2 separate regions of the Homo sapiens genome follow, and region 1 is linked to region 2. The links are contacts of gene promoters, found by promoter capture Hi-C in blood cells and fetal thymus (Javierre and others, 2016). All regions are on one chromosome and are shown on one strand. Each heading gives the region's core, a stretch centred on a gene start or on the middle of the fragment in contact. The rest is flanking DNA. Distances are from core to core; before and after follow the strand shown. Region 1 holds the start of DUT (deoxyuridine triphosphatase). Region 2 holds the start of NSMCE3 (NSE3 component of SMC5/6 complex).

What was found. The method cuts DNA at HindIII sites, captures the fragments that hold promoters and counts their contacts. A CHiCAGO score of 5 or more calls a contact.
Region 1: a fragment that was not itself captured here is called in contact with the fragment with the promoter of NSMCE3 in region 2 in 1 of 17 cell types (total CD4 T cells); the score reaches 9.7 in total CD4 T cells.

What each region holds. Positions count from the first base shown.
Region 1 is chr15:48,330,942-48,337,144 of GRCh38, reverse strand. DUT (deoxyuridine triphosphatase) reads right to left here and starts at 5,716. Exons shown (of 7, transcript NM_001025248.2): 1 at 5,350-5,716; 2 at 4,739-4,877; 3 at 2,637-2,728; 4 at 1,055-1,099. The coding sequence starts at 5,629. It overlaps DUT-AS1 (DUT antisense RNA 1), which reads left to right and starts at 5,289. Exons shown (of 3, transcript NR_186809.1): 1 at 5,289-5,582. RefSeq lists silencers at 59-128, 4,939-5,233, 5,284-5,493 and enhancers at 4,939-5,233, 5,157-5,681, 5,682-6,203. The HindIII fragment of the contact is 2,422 bases long and covers 942-3,363 here.
Region 2 is chr15:29,265,891-29,271,321 of GRCh38, reverse strand. NSMCE3 (NSE3 component of SMC5/6 complex) reads left to right here and starts at 1,500. Exons shown (of 1, transcript NM_138704.4): 1 at 1,500-5,431. The coding sequence starts at 1,617. The coding sequence ends at 2,531. All of the region lies in intron 2 of ENTREP2 (endosomal transmembrane epsin interactor 2), which reads left to right. RefSeq lists enhancers at 1,204-1,703, 1,704-2,205. The HindIII fragment of the contact is 8,019 bases long and covers 4-5,431 here.

The sequences.
Region 1 (6,203 bases), core at 903-3,402, about 19 Mb before region 2:
GTCCTGTCTTGTCCCACAGCACCACCTGGTGACACTATGGAGAGACACCACACCCACCAAATGTTAGACTAAGGGGCAGGTCTAGGATAGCCAGGTTTCATTAAGTGCTTAGTTAGCCCTTGCAGTGGCACATAAAAGTGAGCTAATTCTGGACGTGTTTAGTTGGTGAGGGGGATGCAGCAGGGTAATCTCCACAATTAATTGCAGTGGAAAGAACAAGGAGGCTGGAATCACACAGAGACTCCAGTTTTTACCACATATCCATGTGGGCTCATTTCTAAGCCAGTTTTCCTGATCTGTTAACAAGCCTCCATAAAGCAGCTCTGTAAAAACGGGTGGAGGAGGAGATCTAGCACACCTACTTATGTGGGGGCCAAGGTATCTTGTTAAGTGAAAGATTCACTACTGATGGGATAAAGGGTCAGTATGTAAGGACCACATAAGTGGGGTCTGAATCCCAGTTGGAGCGGACCTGAAACAAGGAAACCACATCAGGAAAGTAGAAATTTCCTTACAATAAGAGGAGTAGCTCTGTATCAAGAGTAGTTAGCAGAGGACACTGAGGGTTCTTCATGAAAGGTACCACATGAGGTAGGGTTAACTTTGAGACAAACATGAGAAAGGCTTTATTATAAGGGAAACAGGTAACACAGAGGACTGTCTTAACAAATTTAGAGAAAAGTGTTTTCTCTCCTGACTTCAGGGAAAGATTTTCTTCTTAAATTTTGCTAAAGACAGATAGCTCTCTTATGAAGAAAATTCTTACAAGATAGACCTGTGTTTTCTAGAACTTTTGTTGCTTAAATAATTACTTAATTATTATATCATTAAATCTGTCATTATTAATTAGGTAATCATTATTTTAAAAATTAAGTTAGTAGTTAAACAAAATATAATTACTTAAAATAACCACAAAGCTTTTCCTCCTATTATAACAAGCTTTCCTCTAATCATTTTCTTTTCTTAAAAATAAAATCTGTCATTTGAATATTACCTTTTAAAGACAAAGTAAATACTTGCAAACATTTACAGAATAAAAAAGGAAATATATTACCTCCTACATCAATAAAGTGTTTTGCAGCCAAGCCTGACCGTGGAGCTAAAAAACAAAAAAGGAGACATTGGTTATTTTAAGGGGGAAGGGCTATATCAGAGATAACTGATGCAATTTAAGCATGTCATTCTCTTCACCTATAATATCTATATCTTCATCTTAACTTTAGCACATGGTTTTGAATTAAAGAATATATATTCATCATACTGCATTACCAAAGTTGGAAAGACTAGTTTAGAAAAATTCCACAAGGTTTTAATTCAAAACTAACTTAAACCACTCCCATGTGACTTCAGTCAGAATTTGTGGTGCTGCAGACAGGGGAGAAGGACTGCTAGAATGAGCTGAAAGGTGAGCAAGCGGGAACAACTGTAGGCTGCTCTTTCAAGAAGTTAAGCCTCAAAGGGGAAGAAAGAGAAGTATGGCCAGCAGGAACACACTACTGAGGAAGAAGACTTTGGTTTTAAGATGGGACACCACAACATGTACAATGCAGATGGGAAGGGAAAGGAAGAGGAAGGGAGAGGGAAACAAACCTAACCAAATAGTAGCAGACCATAGCCTACAACTTGGGACCCCACTATTCATGATTCAGATGCCAAAAGACATGCCTGTAGGAAACACATGAACCAGAGTAAGATAAATGGGCTAATATCAGTTAAGTAAAAATGCCAAAAACTAAGTCTCAATGATTCAATGCTAGTATACTTTTTAATCCTAAAAAATGAAAAAAATAAAAAGCTAAGGTTACACCTTATTATTGCAGACTCAAGCATCAGGCCTATAATTAATTATCCTAACTTCCAGCATTTTATTTTAGAATAATTTAAATCAGGCACTTTGTCAATAATGCTGCCTCTTTCTGTACTAACCTTTATTTCACTCCATCTCCTGCCCCTTCCCCTGAAAAAATTCTAAAAAATGGAGTCAATGATGCTCAAGAGATGAGATGAGAGCCCATCTTGTTATCTTTTAAGGGCTGAAGTACTGGCAGTTTCCTCACTCATGGCTAATAATATAGTGCCAGTCTAGCTCCTTTCCCTGGAGGAGGGCGTCACAGCTCCATTGCCTCCTTTATGTTTACTCTGAAGTTAGTCAAAAAGAACTTACGCTCTTGCAAAGAACTGTCTGGTAACAACTGATCCGCTCCAGAAAAATCAAACCTGTTGACGTGTACTCCATTTTGTCCTAGCTCCTCCCAGTGCCTCTACAACACTGAAGAGTATCCCTTACCCTAACCCCATGGCCAAACAAGAAAAGGTTAAGTAGGCTTACACATTCTGGGACCAACAGGTCAGAAGTTTTACTCTCATAATATAAAATGCCATGTTCTGAGAACAGCCTTCTAGGCCAGTGTGAGCCTAAAAGCTCCAGTGAGGAAGGAGAAAAATAAAAGGGTCAAAAAGAGGCAAAGCAGAGATGTAAATAAAGCCTTTCAAAGAGTGCATTTGCTATCACAAATGGTGCTTCTTTTAGGACACAGCCCAAGCAATATTGCCTGCTTATTACCCCAAATGAAACATGAAGAATCTATCACAAAGGAGAACTTGACAAATAGTTACCTGTTTCTTAAATGACTTACCCACTCTTCCATAACACCCAGAAGGGAGCGCTATCTGAATGTCCGTTTTCACAACAGCTTTCTCCATAGGTGGTATTGTGTAATCATAGGCACTAAGAAAATATTGAAAGAAAATAACTGCAAATCTATTTATAAAATTGTTTTTATATTTTCTTTGTGACCAAGCATACAAAATTACTTTCAGTGTATTTAATGAATTAATGCAACTTTAGTTTCTAAAATCAACCTTGCTATGATGAATTACCAATTCATCTTAAAAGTTTATGAAGAAGGTAGAGGTGGCTATTTTATTATTAAAAAGACAGCTTTAGATAAAATAATTCTCCATGAATATTTTTGGTGGTGTGAAGAGATGTCAACATTGTAAATGTTTGCCCCTGAACAAAAGTTTATTGGAAACTGAGGTACTTATCAGCGTGAAAGGGCAGAAAGGCAAACTTTCAAAAGGTGGATGCTTTACAACCATAGTTTGAAAAGGAAAAAAATGAAGAAAGAACAAAGAAAAAAGGCCAAATACTACTAATAATACTAGCTATCATTGATTAAGCCTTTACTGTGTGCCAGGAACAGTTCTAATTGGTTTACATATATTAACCCATTTTATTCTCACAATGATCTGTGTGATTAGGGAAAATATGCAGAAGGAAAGGAGAAAAACGGGTGGACAAAATAAGAGATAAAGAACTGTGTTGTATCTGTCAGGCAGGGCTTGGTAGTTTACCAAGCTTAGGCTATGAATTTCCTGGCTGAGGGAGACAGCTGATCACCGTGAACGGCCCCTGGAGATGGACCTTGCTTAGGAACAGAATTCCTCTAAAGTCCACATAGCAAATGCTGCTACTCTTGATATTACTGTGGCCCTCTCCTGGGTAGAAATTTAAGAGATTTTACAATGAGCAGAACCGGAAGTTTACTTTGGAGACCTTAATTAACTCTGGTAAAGCAGTACTACCCCTTCTTTCACTGAAATCCCTCTTTAAACAGTTAAGCCCTAATTTATTGCTGATCCATTATTTCCATGTCAATTTCAGTATACAGAAAGTCACCTGTGTTTATTAGGAGTCTACTTAAGGTATCTTAAATCAAGGACTCCCCTAGGACTCAAGAAAGTGCTCCAAAATATACTTTGGAAAGGTCTAGTCAAACTATATCACTCTACTTTTATTCATCAAAATTAAGAGACTGTAGTTTTTCCAGCTACAATTGTCCATACCTACTTTCCTTTTCCTTTTTTTTCTGTTGCTATCATCAGGCACTACTTTCTCTTCTCCTGTGCTTAGACTAATAGTTCTCATGTTTGAATTATCTGAGATACTTTAAAATAAATCCCAATGCTTGGGATTTAGTATAAAATCTCCTTCCCTCTCAGCATTACTTTTCTCCTACCTTAATGGTTCTAAGAACTGGGCACAGTAGTCAGATGAAAAAAAAAAAGCCCAAAATTCGGGATAAAAAATTATATCATCTTCAAGCCTCTGGGGAAATCAATTCAGCTCTTCACAAACTCCTGCCTGTGTAAAAAGTAACACTTATCTAGTTAAGGATTGTTGTGAGGACTAAATACAACAGCATACGGAAAGTTTTTAGTACAGGTAAAACGTGCTGTAGAGATGAAAGTGTGGTAGATTACAGGCAGCTCTGCCTTTCGTTTTCAGATGCCTTCTCAAATTCCGCCCTGGGCCGGATGAATGTATAGAAAATAACTTTTTAAGGCAGATGCATCTTCGTTCATCCTTCTTAGGTATTTTCACGCTCACATCTAGGCTCTCACCTTGGTTTTTCTATTGAGCACAGCATCACCCTCGGGCCACTCGAAAGCCACCATGGGCCTTCCTCTCTATCTTCTATTTAGGAAGGGCACAATAAACGTTGCAAAGTAACGCCTTGCTAGACACCGTATAGCTATTTTACTTATTCTGCAGTCTTTGCCCAAATCTCTATTTAATTTATGCCAAAGATGAAAGCTAAAATTTTAAACACGAAAAAGGCAGAAATCCTATTTATAGCTAGTGTGTTCCTGTGATCTCTCCGGTGACTGTTTCTAGCTGTGGCAGCGGACGGCCGGCCCTTCCCAGCCTCCTCGCCGGCAGGTCCCCGCTCACCTGTACAGGTCGTAGCCCGCGGCGCGCGCGGAGCCCCGGGTGGGGGCCGTGGCGTGCTCGGAGAGCCGGGCAAAGCGGAGCTGCATGCCGCCCACCTCCGCAGGCCGGGCCCGCTTACTGGGTGAAATGGCGGGTGTCTCTTCAGAGCAGGGCATGGCAGAGCCAGAAGGCGAGCGAGGAGACCACCGGGGGAAGAGGAGAGCGCACGATGAGCGTCGCCGCAGGGAGCGCGCCAAAACCGAAATTTCCCGCCAGCCCCGCCCCACCCACCGCCCCTCCCCGGGACGAGTCCACAGTTCTGGCTGAGAGGGGAGGCGGGATTCACATTTTGGGTTTGAAGCCCTTCTCGGAAAGCAGGTTTGGGATGGGAAACTACTGGGTCCCAGTCAACTTTCCACATTCAGCGCGTGGGGCCAACTTTGAAGGGGAGCTTCTAGGGCGTCGCCCTCACACACTAGAAAGCCGCCCCCTCGCCAGGGGACCCTAATGGACCACCCCACCCCCCCCGCCCCCCGCGCGCAGAAGGACCGCTCGCCACCCTACTTCCCCCACAGCCTCAAGCCGCGTGGATTCCTTCCAGACGGCCGGAGCCCCTCCCCCGCCTTTCCTACCCGGCCCCGGCGCCGGGCTTCCCCCCGCCTTAGGAAGCTCGCCCTTCCAGCCAGCGGCCCCGACTGTACTGGCTCCGCGGCAGCCTTGGCTCAGGCGGCCAGCGCTGGACAGCGGCCGGGGAATCCCGTGCTGCGCGGCGCGGCCGAGGGGCGGGCCTGGCCCGGAGAGTACCGCGGCTTCGGCCCTCTGCCGTGCGCCTCGCGCGTTTTGCATCGCTGAGCGAAGCAGAGACGTAAGGAAATGGTAGCAGAGCGCGGGGCGAGGGCAGAGGGGAGTCATTTCCCCCAGAGTTTGGGCTGGTTGGGTCCTCGGCACCTCCGGACGTGCGCCAGGCTTCCACCCTGAAGACGCGCCCGTCCTGGGAACATGACCTCGGAAGCAGTCGCAGCCGCCGCCGGACGAGGGGCGTGGAGAGGCGGTGCCCCGGCAGCCCAGGGATGGCGCAGGCCCTGGGGCCCCAGGAAGACGGCGCCGTTGGCGTCTTGAGTCTTGCTGCCGCCTCTGGCTGCCTAGCCCTCTTGCTTTCGCTCTTCTTGTTTGCTCTGGCCCCCATTTTTCCGAGAGTGTACGCCAGGCCCGGGCCCTGCTCCTGGACTGATTTACCTGGGGCGGCACCGCCCGCAGCCATGACTCCCGGGCTCTGAGTTTAGCGGCGCCCTAAGCGCCGGAACCGCATCTCGGCGCCGGTGACAGTTATTGCGCCCGGGGCCGCTCCCCAAGCTGTGGGCAAGACACCGCGCCCGATTTCCTTTCAGCACCGAGTGTCAGACGTTGTAGTGTTTATTCGACCGGAGGCAGGGAGGGCGCTACTATCCTATCACAGGTTTGGGATAACCCAACAGAAACGCAGTGG
Region 2 (5,431 bases), core at 251-2,750:
GCTTCTATGAACCTAAGTCCAGATTTTAATTTGCAAGGAAACTGAAGCAGATGAATTTTCTCATTGTAAAAAAATGAATGCCTTGATAATATATTTGTTTTTCATAGTAGGCCTTTGTCATTAAAATTGATGCCTGAGGATATAGTTGCATCTTGTGTGGAACAGTAAGTTATTACTCATTGCATACCAGATTTTAGCATACTTGCATTAGTTCATGGAATATGATTTTACATTTACTATTGCAGTTCCAGTGCCATTATCAGATTGCATTTTCCTACTGAATTACAAACAAAAGTGTTATGCTACTAACAATTAACAAAATTTTAATAAGGTTGTGTTTGATGCTATTACTCAGATAATGTGTTCTAAATTGCTTTCCTTTGAATATATTTGCATTAAAGAGGAACTCAATTTGGTTCTTTGAAGAGTTTATCCACTTTCTGGGTAGCTTTAAAAAGACACAGGGAAATTCAGTTTCTTCTTTGCAAGTAAATAGAGAAGAAACAAATTTGCTAAGATCTGTAGAAGTCATGGCAGCAGACTGCTGATGGTTTGAGTTAATGAAATGACTCATTTTGGCTACTTGAGTTGCACAATTAAAATATACAGTAGAGACTGTATATCACATCATAGATGAGAGATAAATCCCCCAGTGTTCTCTTTTTTTTCCTCAAAGCTAATATATTATGAATTAAGAAATTTAAGAGCTCCACATTATTGCAATTCTTGATCAGTGATGCCCCAAATTAAGTAGTAATCTCTTGAGAGTGCACGTTTGTTTGCAGCATTCCTCTTACCCATTTCTGCTAAAATTGTGGTTGTGACGAAAGCAGTTGTTTTCCAAAAGATAAACCCATGTGACCAAGCTAAAACATTTACCTAATACTGACACGTTTTTTGTGGTCTTCTCATAGTTGTCTAGCTAAAGGAGTTTAATGCAGAGAATATAAATACGGAAATAGTGAAACTGAAGTCCTGCTTGCGCAGAAAGCCTGCAGCCGACTTTGGTTTTTAACAGACTCCACGGGGCATTAGAGAAAGTAACTGGGGGCAGTGGGATGGAGGGTATGAAATTGGGTGGAGGGACGAAAACTAAGAGCCCTCTGGGTCTTTTATGTCCTTCTACATTTTGTGTAGAAATAAATGTTTTTACTTTACTTCCACGGTCGGCCCTTCCTCTTCACCTTTTTTTTTTCTCACACGTTCATCCTCTGAATTCTTTCCGTTTACAAATGCTCCCGATTTAGAAACTCATAATACTGTCTGTAAAACTTGCCTGAGCCTGTGTGGTCTGAATTTAGCGACACACTTGTTTAGGAGTTTCGGTTCTCGCTCTCTGTTTGCATGGTTTGGTAACAACACTTCACTATACTAAAAATCATCGCCCGGACCTGCAGGGCTGCACGGAAAACGCTGTTCCTTTTGGTACCCGCCGCAGCCGCGCAGGCGCACCGCCCAGCCGCCCTGACGCAAGGCGCAGGCTTCATGACGCAGCACGCAGTCTCAGCCGACACTGCGCGCGCCTCCAGGCACCGGCGTTAGCGGGTCGCCGACCCGCAATCCCCGCCGCGGCTGCTTGCCTACCGGAGTGTGCGCCGGCACCTGCCGCCGGAGACATGTTGCAAAAACCGAGGAACCGGGGCCGCTCTGGCGGCCAGGCCGAGAGGGACAGAGACTGGAGCCATAGCGGAAACCCCGGGGCTTCGCGGGCCGGGGAAGACGCCCGGGTTCTCAGAGACGGCTTTGCCGAGGAGGCCCCGAGCACGTCCCGCGGGCCGGGCGGCTCGCAGGGGTCGCAGGGCCCCTCGCCTCAGGGCGCCCGCCGGGCCCAGGCCGCCCCCGCCGTGGGGCCCAGGAGCCAGAAGCAGCTGGAGCTGAAAGTGTCCGAGCTGGTGCAGTTCTTGCTGATTAAAGACCAGAAGAAGATTCCGATCAAGCGGGCCGACATACTGAAGCACGTCATCGGGGACTACAAGGACATCTTCCCCGACCTCTTCAAACGGGCCGCCGAGCGCCTCCAGTACGTCTTCGGGTATAAGCTGGTGGAACTTGAACCCAAGAGCAACACTTACATCCTCATCAACACCCTGGAGCCTGTGGAGGAGGATGCCGAGATGAGGGGTGACCAAGGCACGCCCACTACGGGCCTCCTGATGATCGTCTTAGGGCTCATCTTTATGAAGGGCAACACCATCAAGGAAACTGAAGCCTGGGACTTTCTGCGGCGCTTAGGGGTCTACCCCACCAAGAAGCATTTAATTTTCGGAGATCCAAAGAAACTCATTACTGAGGACTTTGTGCGACAGCGTTACCTGGAATACCGGCGGATACCCCACACCGACCCCGTCGACTACGAATTCCAGTGGGGCCCGCGAACCAACCTGGAAACCAGCAAGATGAAAGTTCTTAAGTTTGTGGCCAAGGTCCATAATCAAGACCCCAAGGACTGGCCAGCGCAGTACTGTGAGGCTTTGGCAGATGAGGAGAACAGGGCCAGACCTCAGCCTAGTGGCCCAGCTCCATCCTCTTGAAAGGTGGATTCAGAGGGACCCCCGGGACAAGGGTCTGAGACCCAAAGGCACAGTTTAGAGGATTGGGGGAAGGGAGAACGAACCCAGGGAGCATATTGCTGTAAACGCTTCAATGTGTGTAGCTTTAGGATGTGTTTGCAAAGTTTTGTTTTTTTAATGTTGTGTTATTTTGCTCCAGATTTTCATCTATAAACAAAGGAGCATTTGTTTTGATTTTACTCTTTTTGGTATAAAAAATTTTGCTAGCTTAGTAAAACGAATTGGAAAACTTGACTATGATCTGGAACAGATAATGCAAGAAGGAACACATAAGTAAGTTGCTTTGGTGCCAAGAAAATAAAAAAGCTATTATCAGGTCTCCTAACTACCCCAGTTTGTAAGGAAAAATAAAAGTTTTTATAAAATTAAAAAAAATAATTGCCTATATCCTTATTATGTTAACCTATTTTATTTTTCTATATTTCGTACATATATAAGTATTATTCATGGTTCCAAGCAATGAGTGTAATGTATTTTCTCCCAATAGTAATTGTTTATATTCATAATTATTCAGCTCTGCTGCTAAACACGTAGTTCCACTTCGTTTTTTTCTTCTTGCTACTGTAGTTATTACAATAAATACTGTATTTTTGAAGCACTTAAGCATTGTGTGTTTTTTAAATCGTGGGTCATGAGAGAATTTCATGACTGGAAATCAACATCTTAAAGTTTTTGCTACATATTAAGGTCAATGCTGTTTTGTAGAAGTTGTTTCACTTTTGTGTGAAACAAAATCAGGATCATGAGGTGAAATATATTTCTCACTGTGGATCTCAAAAAGGCTTATAAAACAATAGCGTAACCATTAACCATGCCTGTTTGGGAATCGGACTGTCTGGGTTGAGATCCTGGCCCCACCATAACTAGTATATGAATTTACATAGGTTCCTTAGTTTGTATGCAGATGTTTCTTGACCTGTAAAATGGTTTTAGTCCGTGATGTGGAGAATTTTATTTGTTATTCTTTAATGTTTTTATTTTTTATTCTCCTTGGTCTGGAGCTGCCACTTTTTAAATATAACTTTTCTTTATCTTTTTTTCCAAATCATTCCTAGGAGAGCAATTCCTGGTTCAAAAGATAGTCCTCTAGTCTCACTCTATTGTATGGGGAAATATAACGTGTATGGTGAGTGTGCCCCACATAGAACATAAGAGCAGGACATAAGATCTACCTCCTAGGGAGTTAGGTATAGGGAAAAGGGTATGGGTCTTGGGGCTGTCTGGCAAACTGAATTTGAATTACGGCTCATGCTAACTTGTCAGCATGGTGGTTGTGGGGGTAGGTTTTAAGCTCTCTGAATCTCAATTTATCTGTAAAATGAGAAAAATAATAGCTATATAATAGTTTTATGCACTAAATGAACTAGAAGAGTTCATAGTCCCATTGTGTTCCTCCATTACGTGTAGCAGATGCTGTTTTTAATGCAGAGATTCAACACGTTTTATTCAGTGGGCAAATAAGTTAATTGTTTTAGGGGGAGGTGCTGCAAATTAACCTTGAAATAAGGCAAATATTTTTAACTCGGGGAAAAAAGTGAACTTCATCAACACTGGACGGAATGTCATTTAAAAGAGTCTATAGTGAGTATGGAGGAATGTGATAGGTTACTGGGTTTTATTTCATTCTGTTGAATTGGGATTTGCATTTGTTTCATCAGTGGAATATGTTTGGCCCTTACAGGCATTTCTTCTTGATCTGCATTTTATTTCAGTGTATAAACTCCTTCCTGCCTCCTGGTCCCCTTACCTCCCTGACTCAGCTTTCTCCTCCTCATGCCCTCTGATACTCGCATTCTCACCTGTATAATAAAAATTATTACCCAGCAGTCACCACCAGTTATATCTGAGGCAAAATTCCCCCCGCTTTTCTCAGAGGTGTTAGCAATTTACCATCGATAATCTTGTTTCAAATTTTAAAATATGAAACATCAGAGGCCACATCAAGGCCTTATATCTTTTCCTTCTCACCCTCCCCAGAGGTAACAAAAGTCTGTGGCTATCGGGCTGTTGTATGACTTTATAATTTTACTATACATGTATATATACATAACCAATATAGAGTTTTATTTTGTGGGCTTTCATGATTTATATAAGCGGTGTTACGTGTGTCCTTATGCAACTTGCTGTACTCACTCACCATTATGTATTTGAGATTCAGCCATGTGGATATATGTAGACCTGATTCACTCATTTTAATTGTTCTTTTATGGGGGAAAAATAACTATCCATTCCTTAATGTCTGGACATTTAAGGTCTTTCCAGTTCTTTGAGATTTGCAGGCATTGTACAGTACTTCTTTAGGCACATGTGTGAGTTTCTCCAGCCAGAAACAAATGGAGCAATCAAGGACTATTGCCAAGCTGCTCTTGAGCTTGTGTCAAGTTACACTCCCATCAACATTTTATACAGTTTTGTTTTGTTTTTGTTTACCAATCCCTCCACCTTCACCCCCTGTGAACACTTGGCCTTTTCAGTATCTTTTCAGCCATTCTGGTACAGTGTGAAATGATAATTTATTACGGTATTAACTTATACCTGTTGCTTACTAGTAATGTTAAGTATCTGCCTATCTTTTGCTCTCACTCCTTTTTGAGTGTCAGATTTCATGTCTTAGACCTATTTCTATTGATTTGTAAGACATCTTTATATGTTCTACATGTTAATCCATGGTCTGCTCTATCTATCTAGTGCAAATACCTTCTCCCACATTTTCACTTCTTTTGGTCATACAGATCATTTGACCTAAATGTGTTACGATCATTAGTGTTTATAAGAGCTACATTTGTGTATAGTGCTTTAAAAAATTCCCCTAATCCTAAAATTGTAAATATGTTTTCTGCCTTTTTTCCCTAAGTGTTCAA